Linked DNA regions of Homo sapiens: region 2 is linked to region 1. The links are contacts of gene promoters, found by promoter capture Hi-C in blood cells and fetal thymus (Javierre and others, 2016). All regions are on one chromosome and are shown on one strand. The core of a region is centred on a gene start or on the middle of the fragment in contact, and the rest is flanking DNA. Distances in the headings are between cores, read along the strand shown.

The links. Contacts are between HindIII fragments. The CHiCAGO score rates a contact against its expected background, and 5 or more counts as called.
Region 2: a fragment that was not itself captured here is called in contact with the fragment with the promoter of SNRNP48 in region 1 in 1 of 17 cell types (fetal thymus); the score reaches 5.2 in fetal thymus.

Annotation. Positions count from the first base shown.
Region 1 is chr6:7,588,684-7,593,985 of GRCh38, reverse strand. SNRNP48 (small nuclear ribonucleoprotein U11/U12 subunit 48) reads right to left here and starts at 3,788. Exons shown (of 9, transcript NM_152551.4): 1 at 3,573-3,788; 2 at 139-252. The coding sequence starts at 3,728. RefSeq lists enhancers at 3,564-3,713, 3,292-4,031. The HindIII fragment of the contact is 5,411 bases long and covers 1-5,020 here.
Region 2 is chr6:6,575,020-6,580,068 of GRCh38, reverse strand. The region is part of intron 1 of LY86-AS1 (LY86 antisense RNA 1); the gene reads left to right. Among named protein-coding and RNA genes, the nearest start is that of LY86, 11 kb to the left of the region's middle. The HindIII fragment of the contact is 1,601 bases long and covers 1,840-3,440 here.

The DNA.
Region 1 (5,302 bases), core at 2,539-5,038:
TAGGCAAGTACCAACCAACCCTTCAAGTAAGGGCTATTATTTTGTCAGTGAACCTCACATTGTAACTTCCAAAAATTGTGAATTAATGTGTAAAATGCATGACATATATGTATATATAATATAGTAAATATATGGTACCTCTTCTTCTTTGGTATAGCCCATTTTCCTCAATCTACAAGATGCCATGTGCTTTGCCAAAGATGATTTAGGCATGTGATGATTGGAATCGTATGGACATATCACAACTTCATCCTATAAAAATCAAACAGAAACAAAGAAAATAGGTACATAATATTTAAATAAATAATTACCATTAAATGTTTACCATTTAATTATGTACCAGTACTGTATAGTGCATCCTCTTCTACAGGCCTCTCTCAACCCCCATGTAGTTGTGTATTAAAGAAAAATAAAACTCCTTCAACCCCTAACTCCCTAAATGCCCCTGTCCTCTCTCCACTCCTTCAAAGCCTAACTCTTTGAAAGGTGTATTTACACTCACTGTCTAAACAACCTCACCTCACCTATAACGATTCCTCACTCATTGCCACCATCACCCCACTGAAACCAGTCAATAGGTCACTAATAACCTTGTTACTAAAGCCAAAAACATGTCACTGTCTTGTTTTATCTGAACTCTTGGAAGGTCACACTCCAATTGTCCATCTGTGATTCTGACACACCCCTCATGTTCTTTCTACCTCTCTGGCTTCTTCTACTTGGTCTCCTCTAAATATCCTAAATATCTGTCTTCCTTGCTCTATTTGTCCCCCTTTAGATGTTGGTTTTCATGTAAGTATTAATATAACCACTGACCTTTTGCTGTTTAATATATGCTTACTGAAAGATCTCAAAGCTACAACTCTCACTATACAGTGAGGACTCCCAAAATTTAGATCTTTAAACCTTGTTTCTCTCCAGTACCGTATATTAAAGACACTAAAAGTTCAACACAAACAAAAATAAATTAATTATATTCATCATCTCCCAACCCTCAAATCTATTCCTTTTGTACTTTTCTATTTCAGTGAAAGGTCCCCCTTGCTCAAGCAAGAAACTACTTCTCCCTCATCACCCACGTCCAATCAATCACCTAGTCCTGCCAATTTAACTCCTAAATATTTCTGAAAATCCCTCAACATCCTCCATCCCCACTGCCACTTCCCCAACTCAGGGTATCATCAACTCTCTCCTGGAATACAACACCATCTCCTGACTACGCTCGCTCGCTCTCTCTCACTCTTGCTCTCTCTCTCTGCTTCCAGTCTTGCTGCCCTCCCCTTCAGTTTCCATCCTGTAGCTGGTTTGAATTCCATCTCTGCCACTTACTGGCTGCATGAAACTGGGTGAGGTACTTAATCTCTCTTTGCCTCATTTTCTATTATATAAAATAAAAATAATAGCAGGACCTCTCTCACAAAGTGATTGTGAAGATTTAAAAAAGTATACCAAAGTTTATACACATAAAGGAATTCAAATAGGGCCTGGTACATAGCAAGCATTCAATAAATGTATGCTATTATTTTATTAAAAGGTAAATGTGATTATAATATGCCCTGGCTTAAAATAATTCCATACCTCCCCACTGCCTTCATTAAAAAAAAAAAAAAAAATCTAGACTTTCTAATATGGCTGACAAGGACCTTTAAGATCTGACCTCTACCCACCATCACCATTCTACTCTAACTCTACACTCTATGCTCTAGCTATCCTTAACTACTTGAGGCTTCCCGATCTGGTCACTCCCTGTCTCTGAACTTCTACACATGCTGTTGATGCTTCTTCCCCGCACCCGCCAACCCCCTAGCCAATTCAACTCACTTTTATTTATCAGCTTAGAATTCACTTTGTCCAGGAAGCCTTTGCTGACCACCACTTTGTCCACCACCGCCTACAATAAACTGTACTATAGCAATTCCAACCCCACCCATCACAGACCCATGATAATATAATGGTTCAGTTATCCGTATTACCCCTCATCACCACCAGACAATAAGCTCTGTGAGGACTAGGAACTAGGTGACAACTAGGACTAGGAACTAGGTGACAACTAGGACTAGCTCTGTGAGGACTAGGAACTAGGTGACAACTAGGAACAGATGACAACTAGGACTGTTGTTCACTAAATTTCAGTACTAAAACACCGGCGGAAATCCTAACTGCCATTTACTAGCAGTGTATCCTTCGACAAATTATCACTTCTGTGTTCCTTTCCTCGTCTATAAAATGTGGCCAAAGATACCTACCTCATAGGGTTATTTTGAGTATTAAATGAAGTAATGTAAGTGGCAAACAAAGTGCTATTTAAACGTTAATACAAGGAATCCAATGTTACCGCAATGCTGAGTAAACAATGTATGGAAGGGTCTGGTAAGCCCCACTCAGTGGAATTCCCAGCTTCAAATACCCCTCTAAATGAATATTAAAGATTTTTTAATTTCCTCTGTGCTTTTAATACAATAAACAATGAATGGTATATACAGAAATCAAATATATTTTAAATGCCTCTGAGGAATCAGTCATGTAACTTAAACCCAGGAGAAATTATCACAGCATGGTAAACCCAGAAGTAATAGTAAAGATAATGAATTACCCCACATTGGAGCACTTCCCTTCCTCTCATTCCACCGAAAATACCCCACAAAAAAACAAAAATCACGAATGTTCACTCTAAATACACTTGCCTACATTTTTAAAAAAGCAATTCTAATGTCCACAGGAGTTGCCAGTTACCACCTCTTGGTGACAACCTTTAATAATCCTAGAATTGGTGCTGTCCCAGTCAGAAGTGTCCAATTTTAAGGCACAGAAAGGCGAACTGGCAAACTCCCAGCTCTCCTGACACCGAATCTGGTGCAACTGCGGAATCCGTATGACAGATGACAATGCAAACCGCCAATCCCTCTGCAGCGCTCTGAGACACGTTCACTTATTTTCTAAATAAATACCAAATCTGCCATTCCCTCCTCACTCAACACACCTTCCTGGATTTTGTTTGTTTGTTTTTTGAGACAGGGTCTTGCTCTGTCGCCCAGGCTGGAATGCAGTGGAGCGATCTCGGCTCACTGCAGCCTCGACCTCCTGGGCTCAAGCTATCCTTCCACCCCAGCCTCCCAAATAGCTGGGGCCACAGGCTCACACCACCACACCCGGCTAATTTTTGTACTTTTGGTAGAGAAGAGGTTTCACCATGTTGCCCAGGCTAGTCTGGAACTCCTGGGCTCAAGGGATCCTCCCGCCTTGGCCTCTCAAAGTGCTAGGATTACAGGCGTGCGCCACCGCGCCCGGCCCCCGGTTTTCTTTAAACTCGAAGTTGCGCGGGAGGAGCGCCGCACTGGAGGTCGATGTGGAGCCTTCGGGAGTTCCTCGCGCGCCCCAGCCCGGAACCCAGGGACGTCAGGGTTGCTCCAGGGCCCCCGGCGCCCCTCGGGTCCCAGGCGCCCATCGCGGCTCTGCACACGGACGAGGACTCCTCGCCCTTCCCTCCGCGGCTGCCAGTGCGGATCTCCCTTCTTCCAGAGAAGACCCCGGGCCGATAGTCCCCGAAAGGGCCCCGCGGCCGCGCTCCTCACCTCCGCCGCCTCCTCTTCCCCGGGATCCAGACTATCTAGGTCCCAGCCCAGGGACGCGGTCACCTCCTCCAACGTCCGGCAGCCGCTCTCCACGAACTCGTTCAGCTCCTCCTGCAGCCGCCGCCGCTCCTCCACAGGTGGAGGCTCGCCCTCCATAGCTGCAGCCCACCCGCCAAGAGGAAGCGGCCGAACTGCAGACCGCACGCGCAGGCCTCTGGGAGCTGTGGGCGGGGCCACAGTCGCCACGTGACTTGAACAGCCTATAGGGAAGAGTCCCGGGAAGGGCGGGACTGTTATTTTGAGAGGCGTTTTCCAATCTTTTCTCAGCTCTTGCGTGCATTTGCTCTGGCCTTTCCAGAAAGATATTCGCCCTCCTCGACTTCCTCAGAAAAAACGGCTTATAGCTACAGAAAAGTTTTAAAAATAGTACAATGAGCTTTCGTTTAGCCGTCCTTCAGCTCATTGTTAACATTTTGCCAGGTTTGATTTCTCTCCGTCTCTTCTCTCCACATTCACAGCCCCACCCAATGATTTTTGCTGAATTCTTTGAAAGTAAGTTGCAGATTTTTCACCCCCAAATATGTTAGCATGCATGTTCTAAGAATAAGAACATTTTCCTGTGTAACCGCAATACATGATCAAACCTAAGAAAATTAGTAAGTCCATAAAATCATTTATTATACAGTTCATATTCAAATTTCCCCATTGTCCCCAAAATTATTTCTATAGCAGTTTTATTTTTTCAACTCATAAGCTATAATTAGTTATTGTCTCTTTTAATCCAGATCAGCCTCCTTCACCCTCCTTTTTAAATTATTAAATCATTACATGTTGTGATGAGCCTAGGCCAGTTGTCTTGTAGAATCTCTCTCATTCTGGATTTGTCAGATTTTGTTTCCCTCATGATTAGATTCAGTTTGAGCACTTTTGCAATACTACCTAAGAGATGTTGCCAACTCACGGGGACGCATAACTCAGTTATATTAGTAATGCTAAATTTGATCACTTGGTAAAGGTGGTGGCTACATCTCTTCATTCTAATAGTACATTTTCCTCTTAGGAATTGGTAAGCAATCTGTGGATTATACCTTGAGTCCATAAGAATAACCTGTTCCCCAACTCCTTGATACAGTCCTTCACTGAATCTGTTGTTACATTAGGAGTTATAAGTGATTCCGCAATAGTATCATGCCTTTTATGTTTATTAACTGGCATTCTTTCCACACCTCCATTTTAGTGTTTGCTTCACTATGGGAATCAAGGTGTTTTTAAAGTTATTGATTTAAGGTTTTTTTTTAATTCAATATAATATACTCCTTTAACATCATAATTCTTGTTGATGCTCAAATTGTCCCAAATGTGGCCAGTGGAAGCCACATTAAGCCATCTGTGTCTTTCATGTATCCCTATTAGTCCTTGAATGCTTTCTTGCTTTGATAACACAAGCTTAACTTTGTACATTTCCTACCCAACACCTGGAATTAGCCCTTGTAGTTTCCCCAAATGGTTTCAACTCCTAGAATCTAACCCATTTTATATTACTTTTTAAAATTTTTTCAAGCCCAAGTGTCAAACCTTGGTTTCCTTTTGCACTTTGTTTACCCATGTGAAGGAACTGTGGGGGAATTTTTTGGTGAACAATTATTTCTAAAGGCAAATAGCACGGTTCTCACTTAAAAAAATAGTCATAAGACTATAAATAGGCAGCACCATAAAATACAGAAGTGGCT
Region 2 (5,049 bases), core at 1,391-3,890, 1.0 Mb after region 1:
AGGCCTCGCATGCTTTGGTCTCTTCCCATCCAGCCTCCCTGGCTGTGGGCACTCCAGCCTTGCTGCCTGCTCTCCCCTGCCCTGGCATCTCTAGTGCCTATCCTGGACTGCCCTTCCTTACCCCTTTTTTACCATATTGCCTGCACTTCCTTGAGAGTTCAACTCAGTGCTTGCTTCCTGAAGAAAGATGTTCTGTCAGGGCTGGGGAGCTCCCACTGAACTCGGCTCCTATAGCCCTGTGACCCTGCCTCTGCCTAGCATGGCTCAGGGTCAGTCATTTGATGAAGGTCAGACTCCTGCATAATATGCCAGGGAAGTTTTCTTCCTCCCACTTTCTTCCCATCCTTCCTTCCTTCTCTTCCGTTCTCTCTTTCCCCCTCACTATTGTGTGCCCCATGGCTAGCACATAATATATATTTCGCAAGATATTTTAGGCTAAATGGACAAAATATAGAGGATGAGGACAGCCCCACAAACTTGTCTTTCTGGCTGGGCCACTGGACCTCTGCATTTGGCAGGCAGGGCAAAGTAAGGTGGGGTGAGGGGCTTCCCTCCCAGGCAGTCTGGCCCTCAGGAAGTTAACAGAGTGTGAGTGTCATCTTCCCCTGAAAGTAGATCACAGTTCCTTTTTCCTCTTTTTTTGCTTCTCATTCTTAAAGTAGTATATTCTAATTGAAGGATTTGGGGGATATACAAGCTAACCCTCCTCTGTGGGGCAGGGGAACTGGAGAGACAGGAAAAATAATCACCCATAATCTCAATACCTAGAAATCACTTTTATTTACATCTTGTGAAATATCTTTCCAGTACACACATACACACACACACACACACACACAATCATACTGTACCAACTGTATATGCTATAACATTATAGTACTTCCATTGGTCACTTAGAATTCTTCCATTACTTGACTTTCAATAACTACATAGTATTCTACTGTATGGGTTGACCACAATTTATTTAAACACTTTACATGTCGACACTTGATAACAAAATAATTAATAGGAGATGATGCTACAGAGTTGCTTTATTGCTATATTTTTGTGCAGCTATGATTATTTTTTCCATCTGGTAAATACCTGAAAGGGAAATGCTCCGTGAAAGAGTTACGAGATTATTCAGGAGTTTGATACATGCTATTATGTTGTTTTCTAGATACATTGAAAAATTTAACCATCTCATCAGCCGCTAGGCATTATCATTTTACAGTATTTTTTGTTAAACATTGTCAGATAAGTGTTAAACATTGGTTCTCCTTATATTCACTTGGGTTTTTTTTTCAGCACTGATAGAGTTGAATTTTTTTTTACATTATTATTACTGGACATTTGTGTTTCTTCCTTAGTAAATTTCTGTGCAAGGCTATTACCCATTTTCTATTATAAAATCAAATTTAAAGGAAAGAAACAAAAGGTAAGAGATTGCTGAATTTAAACCTTCATGAAAATTCAGTTTAACCAGCATTTATTGTTACCTCCTTTTTGCACAGTGCTTTTTATTCTTGGACAAACATTGTTATGATCTGGTGCAGGTAAAGAAAATCCTACAATGAGATTTGTTTGAGACTTAAGTTTACTCTGTGGATAATGCCGGCTATTAATAAAATATACAGTGCTTATAATACATAAATAAAAAGAAAAATAAGTCTTGATCTAAGGTATTGCATTTGCTTGGGTGATTTGTCTATACTTATAGATGATTAACTTGGAAGTCATGTGGGAAAAGGTGAATTCAGGTACATTGTTTAGTTGCGACTCTTCAAGGCAAACACATGATTGTAGACTGCTGCTGCAGTTTTAGCTGCAACTTGGAGTACGTGGTCTTCTGGAGAAGCTTCTGAATGTTTGGTAAAGGCAGTTGTGTTTGTGTGACCAATTCCTTATATGTTTTTTAATTTTTTATTTTTAAATATGGGTGTCACTCTGTTGCCCAGGCTGGAGTGTAGTGGTGTGATTATGGCTCACTGTAGTCTTGAACTCCTGAGCCCAAGTGACCCTCCCACTTCTGCCTCCCAAAGTGTTGTGGTCACAGGCATGAAACATTGTGCTTGGCCATCAATTTCTTATATTTTGAACAAATATAAAATAGTATTGCTCAACAATTGCTCTCTCCCAAGCACTCACCAGCAGAGGACACTATATAAAGGAGGTTGCATGAGGTGGGTGGAGTTGGACAGACAGACCTATGTCTACATTCTGGTCTCACTAATGACTACTATGTCTTTGGCAAGTCACAGACTCACCGGCAAAATGAAACTTATTAAATCCATGTTTCAGATTTGAAAACAAAACAAGATAAAGATTGAACATGTATCAAAGTGTTTTATATATATATATACACACACCCATATATATATGCATATATATATATATATACACACACCCATATATATATGCATATATATATATATATACACACACACACATATACACAGAGGGAGAGACTTAAGTTTACTCTGAGGATGATGCCAACTATTAATAAAGTATACAGTGCTTACAACATGTAAATAAAAATAATTCCTGACCTAAGAATAAACACAGACGACTTAAACACACACACACCTGGTAGCCCTCATTAGGAAATAGTTCAGTCTAAATTAGAATTAGGGGTTGGGACATATATGTGAATGAACACAATACTTTAAAAAATGCTAGTGAAGAAAATATCAACAAAATAGTAGTTTCTAACAGTGTTGAATATGATTCAGAAGATTGGAGCTTCTTGGTGAACAAGTAGAAAACTACTCTTTAAAGTTAAATGAGAATAATTTACTTCCCACTCATTGGTAGACTAAAACCTACTAATTTTTGGAGAGAATGGCTGGATCAGAACTATATCCATAATTTTTCCAGGCTGCTTGGTTGCTGTGTTTTGCCAAGGAAAAAGATTACACATCATAATACAGACACTTATATAGCAACATTTATATTTTTACCCTAGTGCTTCTGTCTGCTTTATTTCTGACTCATAACAGCCATTTAAATAGGCAGTCAGATATTACATGTCTGGCTTCTCTGTTAAGGAAAAGGTCTTTGTCATACACCCGTGAATCCTTTCTGTCTTGAATGGTGTCTGGACTATAGTTCATGGTCTTAAGAGTTAGTTAACTGAACAATAATAAAAAGAAACAACTAACTTACCTTTTTGAGAGCTTCCAAGATGCTAGGCACTGTATTTTACAGGGATTTGAGGCAGGTATTGTATAATACCCATTATACAAATGAGGAAACTGAAGTTTAGGGCAATTAAGTAATTTGTCTAAGGTCTCAAAATGACAGAGCCAAGATTCAAATCCAGAGCTAATATCCAAATCCATTTTCTTAACTATAACACTTTATTGCTCCAAGTGAAGAAACTAGCAGGCAAACAAGCTCTATGGTAAAGGAATAAATGCAGGATAAGAAAGATTAGTTTTTTTGTCCATGTTCACAAAGCTTACCATTAGTGGGTTGTAACTAAATGTCTTTGTTTGCATTACTCCATCTGCCACGGCTTCCTTGGCTGTACCCTGTTCCAGCTGGAGAAGATAACAGATTAATCTGTCATGCCTAGAAGTGTTATTTGTCCTATCTACTCTTTGCTTTTTTTCATTCCCACCTCCTCCTGGATTAATATAGTATTTATTCGGTATTCCATTTTATCTCCTCTAGCAGTTTAACTATACCTTCTTGTTTTATGTTAGTGGTTGCTCTAGTGTGTTGTCCAGTAGGCTAGCCCTTTGCTATGTTAGCATGGGAAATACGGCTGAAATGAACTGAGATGTGTGGATGGTTTAACATACACACTAGCTTTTGAAGGGTTAATGTAAAACGTGTAAAATAAATAGCTCACTAGTAATTTTTTATGTTGATTACATATTGAAGTTATAATATTTTGAAGATCCTAGGTTAAATATAATACTACAATTTCCTCTATTTCTTTTATGCTTTTAATGTGGCTTCTAGAAAATTTAAAGATATATATGTGGCTTGTATTTGTGGTTTATATTATATTTCTATTGGACAGTACTGCTCTCAAGATAGTATATTAATAGAATATAAAATATATATTATAACAACATAATTCAATTAGTAATTATATAATTATCAATAATTATATATGTAATAATTATATAACTAATACAATAATTATATAATATAATGGGTTAATAAGATTTATTAGAATAATTAGAATATAATACAATAATATAAGAAACTTGCAATTATACATTTCCACTTAACCACTCCAATTTCTTATTCTATTGCGTGTATTTAACTTCTATATATGTTGTAAATCTCCCAGTACATTGTCACTATTTTTTTTCTTAACTAGTTATTAAGAACTGTGAAGTTTTAGAGACTTCATCCCACTTGCAAGCTAATAGGTACCCTGTTGCTGTTTGAGGGATGTTGACAAGAGACATGAGACTCCTGGGTCCAAGGACTTTATTACTCAAAGAACAATGAGCAGCATGAGCATCAGAGTATTTGCATTGACTCCTCTTTCCCCTAAGTTCCACATGGGCGATGTGATGGGCCCAGATAGATACTACACAAGCAGAGGGTTTGTGATGAAGCTAAGGAACTCAGGGTCTAGTGCCTAGCATGTTTTGAACAAGCAGTAAACATTGCAGAAAGCAGCTAACAGGCCAGTCTTCCTACCGTTAGAAAGGGAGTAGTTTCCTAGTATTTACACTGTCATTACCTTGCTACTTAGTCACCTTCATGATTAGCTACAGAAATTGCTGCTTATCAGGAGACAGATAAACTTTGAAATCTGGCACATGCCGCAAGAACTTGCGTAGATGGCCATGATGCATGGCATACTACTCAACACAATCAATTGCCTTTAAAAAAAAAAACAAATGAGGAAAAAAATGATTTCATATTTACCTACGTTTACCATTTTTGGTGCTCTTCATTCTTTTGTGAGAATCCTAGTTTCCATATATTATTTCCCTTCAAACTGAAGAACTTCTTTTAATGTTTTCTGAAGTGTAGATCTGCTGGTAATTAATTATCTCAGCTTTTATTTTCCTGAAAATGTCTTTCTTTTACTTTTTATTT